3 separate regions of the Homo sapiens genome follow, and regions 1 and 2 are each linked to region 3. Evidence: promoter capture Hi-C in 16 types of primary human blood cells and fetal thymus (Javierre and others, 2016). All regions are on one chromosome and are shown on one strand. The core of a region is centred on a gene start or on the middle of the fragment in contact, and the rest is flanking DNA. Distances in the headings are between cores, read along the strand shown. Region 1 overlaps INTS6 (integrator complex subunit 6). Region 2 overlaps INTS6 (integrator complex subunit 6). Region 3 holds the start of CKAP2 (cytoskeleton associated protein 2).

Evidence for each region. The method cuts DNA at HindIII sites, captures the fragments that hold promoters and counts their contacts. A CHiCAGO score of 5 or more calls a contact.
Region 1: a contact is called between a fragment that was not itself captured here and the fragment with the promoter of CKAP2 in region 3, in 1 of 17 cell types (total B cells). The highest score is 5.6, in total B cells.
Region 2: a contact is called between a fragment that was not itself captured here and the fragment with the promoter of CKAP2 in region 3, in 1 of 17 cell types (non-activated CD4 T cells). The highest score is 5.6, in non-activated CD4 T cells.

Annotation. Positions count from the first base shown.
Region 1 is chr13:51,414,013-51,417,332 of GRCh38, forward strand. All of the region lies in intron 4 of INTS6 (integrator complex subunit 6), which reads right to left. Among named protein-coding and RNA genes, the nearest start is that of INTS6, 37 kb to the right of the region's middle. The HindIII fragment of the contact is 1,369 bases long and covers 616-1,984 here.
Region 2 is chr13:51,441,179-51,444,903 of GRCh38, forward strand. The region is part of intron 3 of INTS6 (integrator complex subunit 6); the gene reads right to left. Among named protein-coding and RNA genes, the nearest start is that of INTS6, 10 kb to the right of the region's middle. The HindIII fragment of the contact is 387 bases long and covers 1,820-2,206 here.
Region 3 is chr13:52,453,481-52,457,099 of GRCh38, forward strand. It overlaps CKAP2 (cytoskeleton associated protein 2), which reads left to right and starts at 1,998. Exons shown (of 9, transcript NM_018204.5): 1 at 1,998-2,146; 2 at 3,043-3,127. The coding sequence starts at 2,077. CKAP2-DT (CKAP2 divergent transcript) reads right to left here and starts at 1,866. Exons shown (of 1, transcript NR_185890.1): 1 at 1,295-1,866. RefSeq lists enhancers at 1,149-1,328, 1,619-1,698. The HindIII fragment of the contact is 3,306 bases long and covers 1-2,752 here.

The sequences.
Region 1 (3,320 bases), core at 50-2,549, 1.0 Mb before region 3:
TCTGCCTTACAGCTAAGTGTGGCCAAATTCTAGTTGATGGAGTCTCATTGCAACGTCATTTATGTTTTAGGTCATGCTTATATTAGGAAGCTGTGTGCCTTTACTCCTTCCCACAGGCTGAAATCCAGTTGTATGATGTGCTGTGAAACCAGCATCAACCATTCAGATAAAAGCAAAGATAGAGGAACAAAGTAGAAGAAACCTGGAACCCTAGACAATAGCTTAGAGCAGAACCACTCCACTTCCCTGACTACTACCAGTTCTATCTTTGATGTGAAAGGAAAAGCCTTCTGTATTTTTAAACCAGCTATTTTTGTCCCAATAGAGAAGCTGAACCAATATCCTAAAAAATATACCTTGCCAGAAGCTTTTCAGAATCCTTGAAGGTTCAACTAGTTGTTTGTTAATTTGTTTTTCTTTGTTGCAGAAAATATGCATTCAAAGAGGCACTGTATGTGTGTTAAGGGCAGGAAAGCACCCATTCTAATCAAACTAATGCTAAATCTTTCCGTGATTTAATAAATAGAAAGTTGGTCCCTCCAACATCTAGTCCAACTCTAGTCCCAATTATTCAGATTTGCTTGGATAATGTAGATGGAAAAGAAGCTTAATAAAAGCTTTTTTTAAAGCAAATAAAATTTTAACATTTTTGGTGAAACTGAGTGGGTATTTCTTAAATCCTATTTCTCAAATATAATACAGCCGCAGGTCCTATTCATAACATAACAGACAATAACAAGAAAATATGTAAGTACTATCAGGCCTTTATAGATTCATTTCCGTTTCTTCCTTCTATATATGTATGTATGTAGTTCTTCTATACACACACACACACACACACACACACACACACACACAGTTCTAAGACTCAAGATTGAATTCCTCAACTTCCTTTCTCTCCCTATGATTTCACCGTCCAACAATCCCAATCCCTACTTCTTTCTAATTATTTCCAAGAACAATTCGAAAGTCAAGAATATCCAAACTGAAATGATGCAGTGGAAAAAGGTATACTAAACAGATCTGCCTATCCTAGAATATATAAGAAACTCACAATTAAAGAACTACTGCATTCTGTTATAGCAACTTAATACCCTGACAAGTATGAGAGTTTTTTTTTTTAAAGGAAAGGATGTACTAAATGGCACAGAACCGTTCACTTAAAAAAAAAATTCTTTAAAAATCTCTCTATTTGAAAAATTTCAATCTCACAGAAAAGTTGCAGTGATTGTACTATGAGCTCCAGGGTCCCATTCATCTAGATTCATAGACAGTTTACATTTTGTCACATTTACTTCTTTCTCTTTTATATAATAACAATAATAATAATGGTGATTGATATGGTTTGGCTGTGTCCCCATCCAAATTTCATCTTGAATTGTAACTCCCACAATTCCCACATTTTGTGGGAGAAACCCCCATGGGAGGTAATTAAATCATGGGGATGGGTCTCTGCCATGCTGTTCTCATGATAGGGAATAAGTCTCACAAGATCTGATGGTTTTAAAAACAGGAAGTTTCCCTGCACAAGCTCTCTCTCTTTGCCTGCTGCCACCCATGTAAGACATGACTTGCTCCTCCTTGCCTTCCACCAGGATTGTGAGGCCTCCCCAGCCATGTAGAACTTTAAGTCCATTAAACCTCTTTCTTTTATTAATTGCCCAGTCTCGGGTATGTCTTTACCAGCAGCATGAAAATGGAGTAGTAGAGTAATATATAATTATTAATATTTGACAAACTATTTGAGAGTAAGTTGAGTCACCAAGCCTTTTAGGCCAAATACACACACTTCTGTGCAGATGAACACGGATAAAGCCACGGGAATGAAATTGTCCAAGAGTATGTCAGTAAACGTGTAAGAAAATCTAAAACTAAACCAGTAACACTCAGGGACAGGCAAATACACTAAGGTCAAGGATGGAAATTAAAACAAAACAAAAAGCCAAAGCAGAGCCAGGAAAGTGTAAACACAGAAGTCAAGAGAAGCTTTAAAAAACAGTGTTCAATAGTGCTGGCAAAACATCATGAAAGAAAAACTAAAAAGCAAATTTGGATTTGGAAGATAAGGACATTATTAGTGATCTTATTAACAAAGGTAGAATCAAAAGTCAGACTGTAATAGATTTAAAAGGAGGTAGAGAAGTCAAGGAGATAACAGAAATGATCTCTAAATTTGTTGCAAAAGGAAATAGAGAAGATAGGCACCAGAGAGGAAAATAGTGTGGGTGTATGAGAGTAAAGATACAAGTTCTTCTATTTGTTTCATTCATCTATTTAAAGTGGCTGAACCAGGAAGTCAGAGTTGTACAATCATCACCACTGTCTACTTTCAGAACATTTTGATCACCTGAAAATGAAACCCTTCTATATACATTAGCATCCTACCCTTATCCCAAGCCTCTGGCAACCACTTATTTCTGTTTCTATGGATTTGCCTATTCTAGACACTTCATATAAATGGAAATTTGCATCAAGTAGCCTTTTGTGTCTGGCTTTCACTTAGTTTTCAAGGTTCATCCATGTTGCACTATGTGAGAGAATTGTATTCCTTTTTAAGGCTGAATAATATTCCATTGTATGGATGTATCATATTTTGTTTATCCATTCATCAGGTAATAGACATTTGTGTTGTTTCCACCTTTTGGCTATTATGAATGACATTAATATGATGTTCACTTACAGGTTTTTGTGTAGACATGTTTTCATTTCTTTAGGTATATACCCCAGAATAGAATTATTGGAGTTAGCATAAGGTAACTCTATGTTTAACTTTTTGAAGAACCACCAAACTATTTCCCAAAGCAGCTGCATCATTTTACATCCTCACTAGCAAAGTATGAAGGTTACAGTTTCTCTACATTCTCACCAACATTTGTAACTGTCCATCTTTTTTATTATATGTCATAGTAGGTGTAAACTGCTATCTCATTATGGTTATAATCTGCATTTCCCTCATGACTAATGATGGTGAGCATCTTTTCATGTACTTACTAGCCATTTATGTATCTTCTCTGGAGAAATGTCTAATCAAATCCTTTGACCATTTTTAAATTAGATTGTCTTTTTATTTTTATGTTGTTACAGTTCTTTATATATTCTGGATATCATGCCCTTCACAGATAAATGATTTGCAAATATTTTCTCTCATTCTGTTACTATCTTTTCACTTTCTTGACAGTATCCTTTGAAACAAAAGTTTTTAATTCTGAAGTCCAATTTGTCTAGTTGTTCTTTGTGCTTCTGGTGTCATGTCTAACTAAAACTTGCCTAATCCTAGGTCAGGAAGATTAAGCCTATGTTTTCTTCTAAGTTTTAGCTCT
Region 2 (3,725 bases), core at 763-3,262, 1.0 Mb before region 3:
AGGCACAGCCAGTTCTAATACAGCAGTTCTTTCCATACCACCATGCTGCTTGTTCTGAAAAAAGCAAGATTAAAAAAACCTCTAGTACCCCATAATTTCAATTTTTAAAATTCAAATAAGAGAAAATACATAAAAATGATTAATAGGTTGTGTTACAATAATAAATTATGTTGTACATTCCTTAATCTTTATCACAGTTCTGCAAGATAGGTCTTTTCATTCTATTTGTCTAATGGGGAAAGTGAGGCTGAGAGGTTATACGACTTGTCAGGTCACGAGTGGAATGGAAATTCATAAGTGGATCTGGTCTTATTTTTCTGAATCTTAAGATATAATGCTTAGAAATTTTCAAAACTACCTTAAGTTAAATGAAAATATGGTAGTTAACTCATCAACTCTCCAGGAAAAAAGTTATAAATGTAACCCTAATACTGGTTGGCATACTACATTGGAAAAATTGACTAATGAACAAGGTTAATAGCTCTATATTAACTAGCTACACATCAGAAACTTAAAGTATGAAGCACAAAACCAAAAAGTGCCATTAAATACTTATGTATGTTATTAGAATCTAGGCCTTAAAGTAATTACAGTATAAAATCCTGTCAACTATCCCATACGTCCCCAGGCCTCCCCACCTCCAGCCTTTTTTTTTTTTTTGAGACAGATTCCCACTCTGTCACCCAGGCTGGAGTGCAGTCGCACAATCTTGGCTCACAGCAACCTCCACCTCCTAGGTTCAAGTGACTCTCCTGCCTCAGCCACCTGAGTAGCTGGGATTGCAGGCGTGCACCACCATGCCTGGCTAATATTTGTGTTTTTGGCAGAGATGGAGTTTTACCAGGTTGGCCAGGCTGGTCTTGAACTCCTGGCCTCTAGTGATCCTCCCTCTTCAACCTCCCAAAGTGCTGGGATTACAGGTGTGAGCCACAGGGACAGCCTCTCCTATGTTTTTGACCATGATTTTTTTTTTTTTTTGAGATGAAGTTTCGTTCTTGTCGCCCAGGCTGGAGTGCAATGGCGCAATCTCAGCTCACTGCAACCTTTGCCTCCTGGGTTCAAGCGATTTTCCTGCCTCAGCTTCCTGAGGGTGCCTGTAGCTGGGATTACAGGCGCCCGCCACCATGCCCAGCTAATTTTTGTATTTTTAGTTTCACCATGTTGGCCAGGCTGGTCTCGAACATCTGACCTCAGGTGATCCACCCACCTCAGCCTCCCAAAGTGCTGGGATTACTAGGCATGAACCATCGCATCTGGCCATTGATCATGATCTTCACTCTGCATTGCCCCCTAACCTGCAAGGGTTCTGGGTTCTCAGTAAACTTTTATTCTTCAGATGCTACTACCTCTAAGAAGTCTTTCCTGGTTTATCCCCTAGATCGGGGTCCCCAACCCCTGGACCCCATCAGGAATGGGTGGCACAGCAGAAGGTGAGCAGTGGGCAAGTGAGCATTACCGTTGGGGCTCCGCCTCCTGTTAGATCAGCAGCAGCATTAGATTCTCATAGGAGCACAAACCCTGTTGTGAACTGTGCATGCAAGGGGTCTAGGTTATGCGCTCCTATGAGACTCTAACGCCTGATGACCTGAGGTGGAAAAGTTTCATCTGAAACCATCCCAACCACCTCTACCAATCCATGGAAAAACTGTCTTCCACAAAACCAGCCTGGTGCCAAAGAGGCTGGGGACCGCTGCCCTAAATTCATTTACTTTCTGCCAAACAAAGGGAGGAAGGAATCCAACTAAAGCTAATTTTGTAACAAACAGTATTTAGATAGAATGTTACAAGAAAGACTAAATGTAACAGAGACAAAATGAAAAGCTTAGCTTTCAAACAAGAACTGAAAGAAATCATACTGCATTACAGAACTATACACAAAACTGAAGAAAGCAACTCAGATCCACTGCTTATACATTTAAATAAAATGTTATTAAATAATATACAAATCCTTAATAAAATCTCCATAACTGTTCTATCACCAATTACAATTTTTAAAAATATTTCATAAATGTGAAGAAATTAAGCCTCTGAACCTTTCTATGCCTTTTCTTCACCTACAAAATGAGGAAAATTGAGTAAACTTCTAAAATCACTTCCATTCTAAAGCCCTATGAAAATAATAATAAAACACAGAAAGTTTAATGAAAACTTGTCAGTAGATGCAAATGTTCAATTTTTTTAAGAGTGTATATTTTAAAATTCACTAAGCTTCACACTTCAGATTTGTTTATTTAAGTTACATCTCAATAAAAATGTTAGAGATCAGAAAATACAAACCAAAACAAAATTTTTTAAAAATTTAGTATTTTGTTTAAAGTCTGGCAACCATGGTAAACTTTTATAGACTAATAGTAAGACTAAACAAAAATAAAGTTTATATAAGGAAATTACTTTTTTAAGCTGAGTACAATGGCAAGAGCCTGCAGTCCCAGCTACTCCGAAGGCGTGGTGGAAAGACTGCTTGAGCCCAGGAGTTCAAGACCAGCCTGGGTAACACAGAGAGACTTTGTATCTAAACATTTTTAAAATTAAAAAGCCCCAAAAAACAAGAAAAGTCCACCAAGACTAATTTAATTGTAGAGTATAAATCTGAGTCAAGGTTATTATGGCCAAAAATCATTTTATATATTTGAGAAACATTTCAAGCTATAAAATACTATATAATCTCTTTGTAGAAATCTATGACATGAACATGACTAAATAAACAATCCTTTTAACTAATTTTGACCACAAATGACCTTAATTCAAAATACACAAATAAGTCCAATGATGTCAAATATTAGATTTGTTCCTGATCTTTTAATTTCCAGCTGTATATAATACATAATTATCGATATTCTCCTATATCGAAAGAAAGTAAAATGCTCTTTAAAGTAGAATATATTATTTGGTTTTTTGTTTGTTTTTGTTTTGTTTTGTTTTTTTGAGACAGCCTATTGCCCAAGTTGGAGTGCAGTGGCACCATCTCAGCTCACTGCAACCTCCACCTCCGGGGTTCAAGCAATCCTCCAACCAGGACTCCAGGAGTCCTGAGTAGCTAGGACTACAGGCACATGCCACCACCCCCCAGCTAATTTTTTTTTTTTTTTTTTTTTTTTTTTTTTTTAGTAGAGATGGGGTTTCACCACATTGTCTAGGCTGGTCTCAAACTCCTGACCTCAAGTGATCCACCTGCTTTAGCCTCCCAAAGTGTTGGGATTACAGGTGTGAGCCATGGCACCCGGCCTATTTTTGACTTTTGTATTTAAGATTTGTTTTGAACAATTTCTAATTAAGAATGCAATAATGGCCAGGGGCGGTGGCTCACGCCTGTAAATCCCAGCACTTTGGGAGGCCGAGGTGGGCGGATCACCTGAGGTCAGGAGTTTCAGACCAGCCTGGCCAACATGGCGAAACCCCGTCTCTACCAAAAATACAAAAATTAGCCGAGGGTGGTGGCGGGAGCCTGTAATCCCAGCTACTCAGGAGGCTGAAGCAGGAGAATGGCTTGAACCCGGGAGGCAGAGGTTGCAGTGAGCCAAGATCACGCCATTGCACTCCAGCCTGGGCAACAAGAGTGAAACTCTATCCCAAAAAAAAAAAGAATGCAATAACATCCTTAGGATAGTGTTTTTCATTTTTCTTTTTTTTTTTTTTTTCAGATCATGACTGGAGAATTTTTTCTTTTAGAAAACAGTTTTAGAGTATAAAATTCTGAAGAAATATTTTGCAAATGTTTTAAAAGA
Region 3 (3,619 bases), core at 748-3,247:
ACCACAGGAGGAACGACTAACACTAATTAATCATCAGTACTCCAGGTGCCTGCAGTTTCATGGTCAGCTGTGTTGGCAAAGAACTGTTCTGAAAGGAAATCTTTTTTGTTTTGTTTTTTTTGTTTGTTTTTTGGATCTTTTAGAAAAAGGTCTGCTTTCTCTGCAATAATTGTGTAGCAGTAATATTAAAAAGTGTCTCAAAAATAGACATATCATTGGAGTGGGTGAGTCTGGAGATTAGAGGAGAATTGCCATTTTGAAAAACCTAGCAGTTTGGCAGGTTTTCCTATTCATCTCAGCCTACTGAGATCTCCATGGTATCCTTTGAGTCAATTTCTTTTTTTACCATGCCCACTTATAAAAAATTATTGAGGTTCACATAACATAAAATTAATCATTTTAAAGTGAACAACTCAATGGCATTAATACATTTACAATGTCACCCAACCACTACCTCTAATTCCAAAACATTTCACTTACTTCAAGGTAATGAAACCCTTGTCCATTAAACTGTCTCCCAATTCTCCCCCTACCCTCAGCCTCTGGCAACTACTATTCTGAGTTATTTCACTATGGATGTATCTATTTTAGATCTTTCATATAAATGGAATCATACCATATGTAACTTTTCATATATTACTTCTTTTACTTAGCATAATGTTTTGGAGGTTTTTGAGTCACTTATTAACGCTGTATTTTGTTCTCACTTAATAGAAATCCCTGGTTGCCCCACCTGTCTGATGAAACTTTAGTAAATAATCAACAATAATGACAGACGTATTTAAACAGCAAGTTATATCTTAAGGATGGTGATGGACAATGTTAAACTAAAACTGGGACATTTCATCAAGTAAAAAACTACACAAAATCTCAAACCAAATTCCTCATTAGCAAGACGCTACCATAAGATGTCTGAAGAAAAAAGCAGGCAGAAGTGGGAAAAACTGACCACAGCCGAGGGCCAGCTGTGGAGGCCCTCAGACCTGGGAAGGGTAAACGGGGAAATCACATCCTCCCGTCTGTGTGCCCGGAGCACCTAAAACCTGGCTGAAAGAGTCCAGTCCAGCCTTACTGCAGTGATCAGGCAAGAAATGTAAACCCAGTGCTTGAAACCAGGCAGGTGCAGTCCAGACTCGCCCTCACTTCCCCACTGCCACTCTTAAAACCTTCTAGCCCTGACTTGTTTCGTTCTGTCATGTGGATTGAGTGTTTGTGTGGGTTTTATGAAGGTGGTATTTTTAGATGAGAAAAACGAAGATTATGGCGGCACACTTAACCACACAAACACAAAACGTCTGTAACAAATGCTATTTTATCTTCAAAGGAGAATTATATATAACCTTGAGGAGGGGATGAGGTTTATCTTCATTTTTTTCTGTTTCTCCTCCTCTCCTCCCTTTTTTGCATTTGATAATTGCTTAGAATAAAGGTATGGAAAGTAGATCCCAATTTCAGTTCCCCTTCACACGCTGTGCAAACGTGGACAAACAACCTCTGAACCTGTCACCTCTCAGTGGAAAAAGTGGTGATAACGTCCCACCTCAGAATTGATGCTCAAAATGAAGCAGTATTTGTGAAACGAAAATACACACGCTCGTGGTACGCCAGATCGGTGTTTACGTCCTCGTCAGTGAACGCGTCGATGTTTAATAAGAAGGGCAGCCAATCAACACTTTTCTTGTCTTTTTCTCGTCTGCCTTCCTCCAAGGACTGTGAGGGTCTCAAGATGTGTCCCATCTCGGTTGTTTGTCAACCTAGTCCTGCTATGTCGTGGGGACTGAGCAGGCCGACTCCTCCCCCATCGCACGTCCAGGATGAAGAGCGCTGTTTAGGTTTGAAACCTGCAGACTCAGTCCCAACCGAACTGGGCAGACACCAGACCGGCCCCGGCAACTGCAGTCCAGGCTCCGCCTCCCTACGCCCATTGGCTTATTCAATTCACGCAGGAACCAATGGGCGGAGACGGCAGCCGCGCCGTCTGACGGCTTAGCCGCGGTGCAGACTGCGGCGGCGGTGGTCTGAGGAAGTTCTATCTTGGCGCTAAAGCGGAGACGCATCCCCCGACCCGAGGCTACGATGAGCACACCGGCCGTGCCCCAGGACCTGCAGCTGCCCCCGAGTCAGAGGGCGCAGTCCGCATTCAAAGGTGAAGGCCGCGGTGGCGGTGGCGGTGGCGGTGGCGGTGGCGGTGGCGGGCGCGGGCCCGGCGGTCGGGGCTCGGGGCCGCGCTGGCGCGCTTCACCTCTCCCCCGCTCTGTGAGATCCCTGAACGCGGCGTCGGCCTCGCCCTGCCTCATTCTTGGCCTTGTGGAACGGATCATAAAAACAGGAACCGCTGCGTGGTGTTACTGTGCGGTCGCTGCTGGCTGGGATGGGCCCTCCTAAGAAGGAATCCGTTAGGCGAGGGGAAACGCGCGGGCCTCAGGCCGGGGTCGGTGTCGGAGACCCTGGGTCCGCTTGGGGGCGGGGCTGCACAGGTTCAGGGACCGACTGCGCCTGCGCTGGGTCCTCCGCCTCTTAGGTCCCTAGCGAATTTCTGCAGGGCTGGGGTCGCATCATGTGTTATTTCCAATTTCACAGCTTCTCCTTCGACTTTATGGAAACCGAGGGTTGGTTGGGTCTTCAAAACTAATATTGTTATTCCCTTATTCTACACACGGGAAAGCAGAAGAAAGTAATTCTCATCTAACCCAGTTCTGGTAAATTAGAACTTTCGAGTCTAGTGCCTCACTTCTACCATTTAGTTTCTTAAAGCTTGGCTAGCAGGAGCTGTATGTAGAAAATGATGTTCTCCAGATTTTTCACAGGGAGTAGAGAATGTGATTCTTATGCAGAGGGGTTTTGGGGACCTGTTGTGGTAACAGTCTCTTCTAAGGTGATTTCTCAAAGGCAATATTGAATTGGAGAATTTTCTGTTATATAGATGTGACCTCAGGTGGAACCAGCTTTGGAAGTAAACTCTTCATTTAGTCAACAAGATTTATTTGCCGTTATCGATGTTTTAACTAATATTGACTTGTAGCTCTTACCTTTGTTATCTAGAGCAAAGAAGACAAAAACTCAAGGAACATCTGTTGAGAAGAAAAACGCTTTTTGCATACAAGCAGGAAAATGAGATGTTATCCAGGTAAGGTCAAGTTTATTTCTTTTCACTTCTGTAAAATTGTATCAGATCTGTCCAATGAAAATGTAAAGTAAGCCATATCTGTAATTTTAAATTTTCTAGTAGCCACATTTAGAAAAACTGCTTACATATTATTTTACGTCTTTTTGTGGTACAACGTCTTTAAAATCTGGTGTCTATTTTACAGTTACAGGACATTTCCATTTGGTCTATCCACATTTCAAGCACTCAGTAGCCACATTGGCTAGTGGCTACTTTATTGGATGGTGCAGCATTAGATCATCGTTTTATTAATTTTTTTTTTTTTGAGACAGAGTCTCACTCTGTTGCCAGGTTGGAGTGCAGTAGCGTGATCTTGGCTCACTGCAGCCTCCACCTTCTGGGTTCAAGTGAATCTCCTGCCTCAGCTTCCCAAATACCTGGGACTGACTACAGGCAAGTGCCACCATTCCCTGCTAATTTTTGTATTTTAAACAGAGACCGGGTTTCACTATG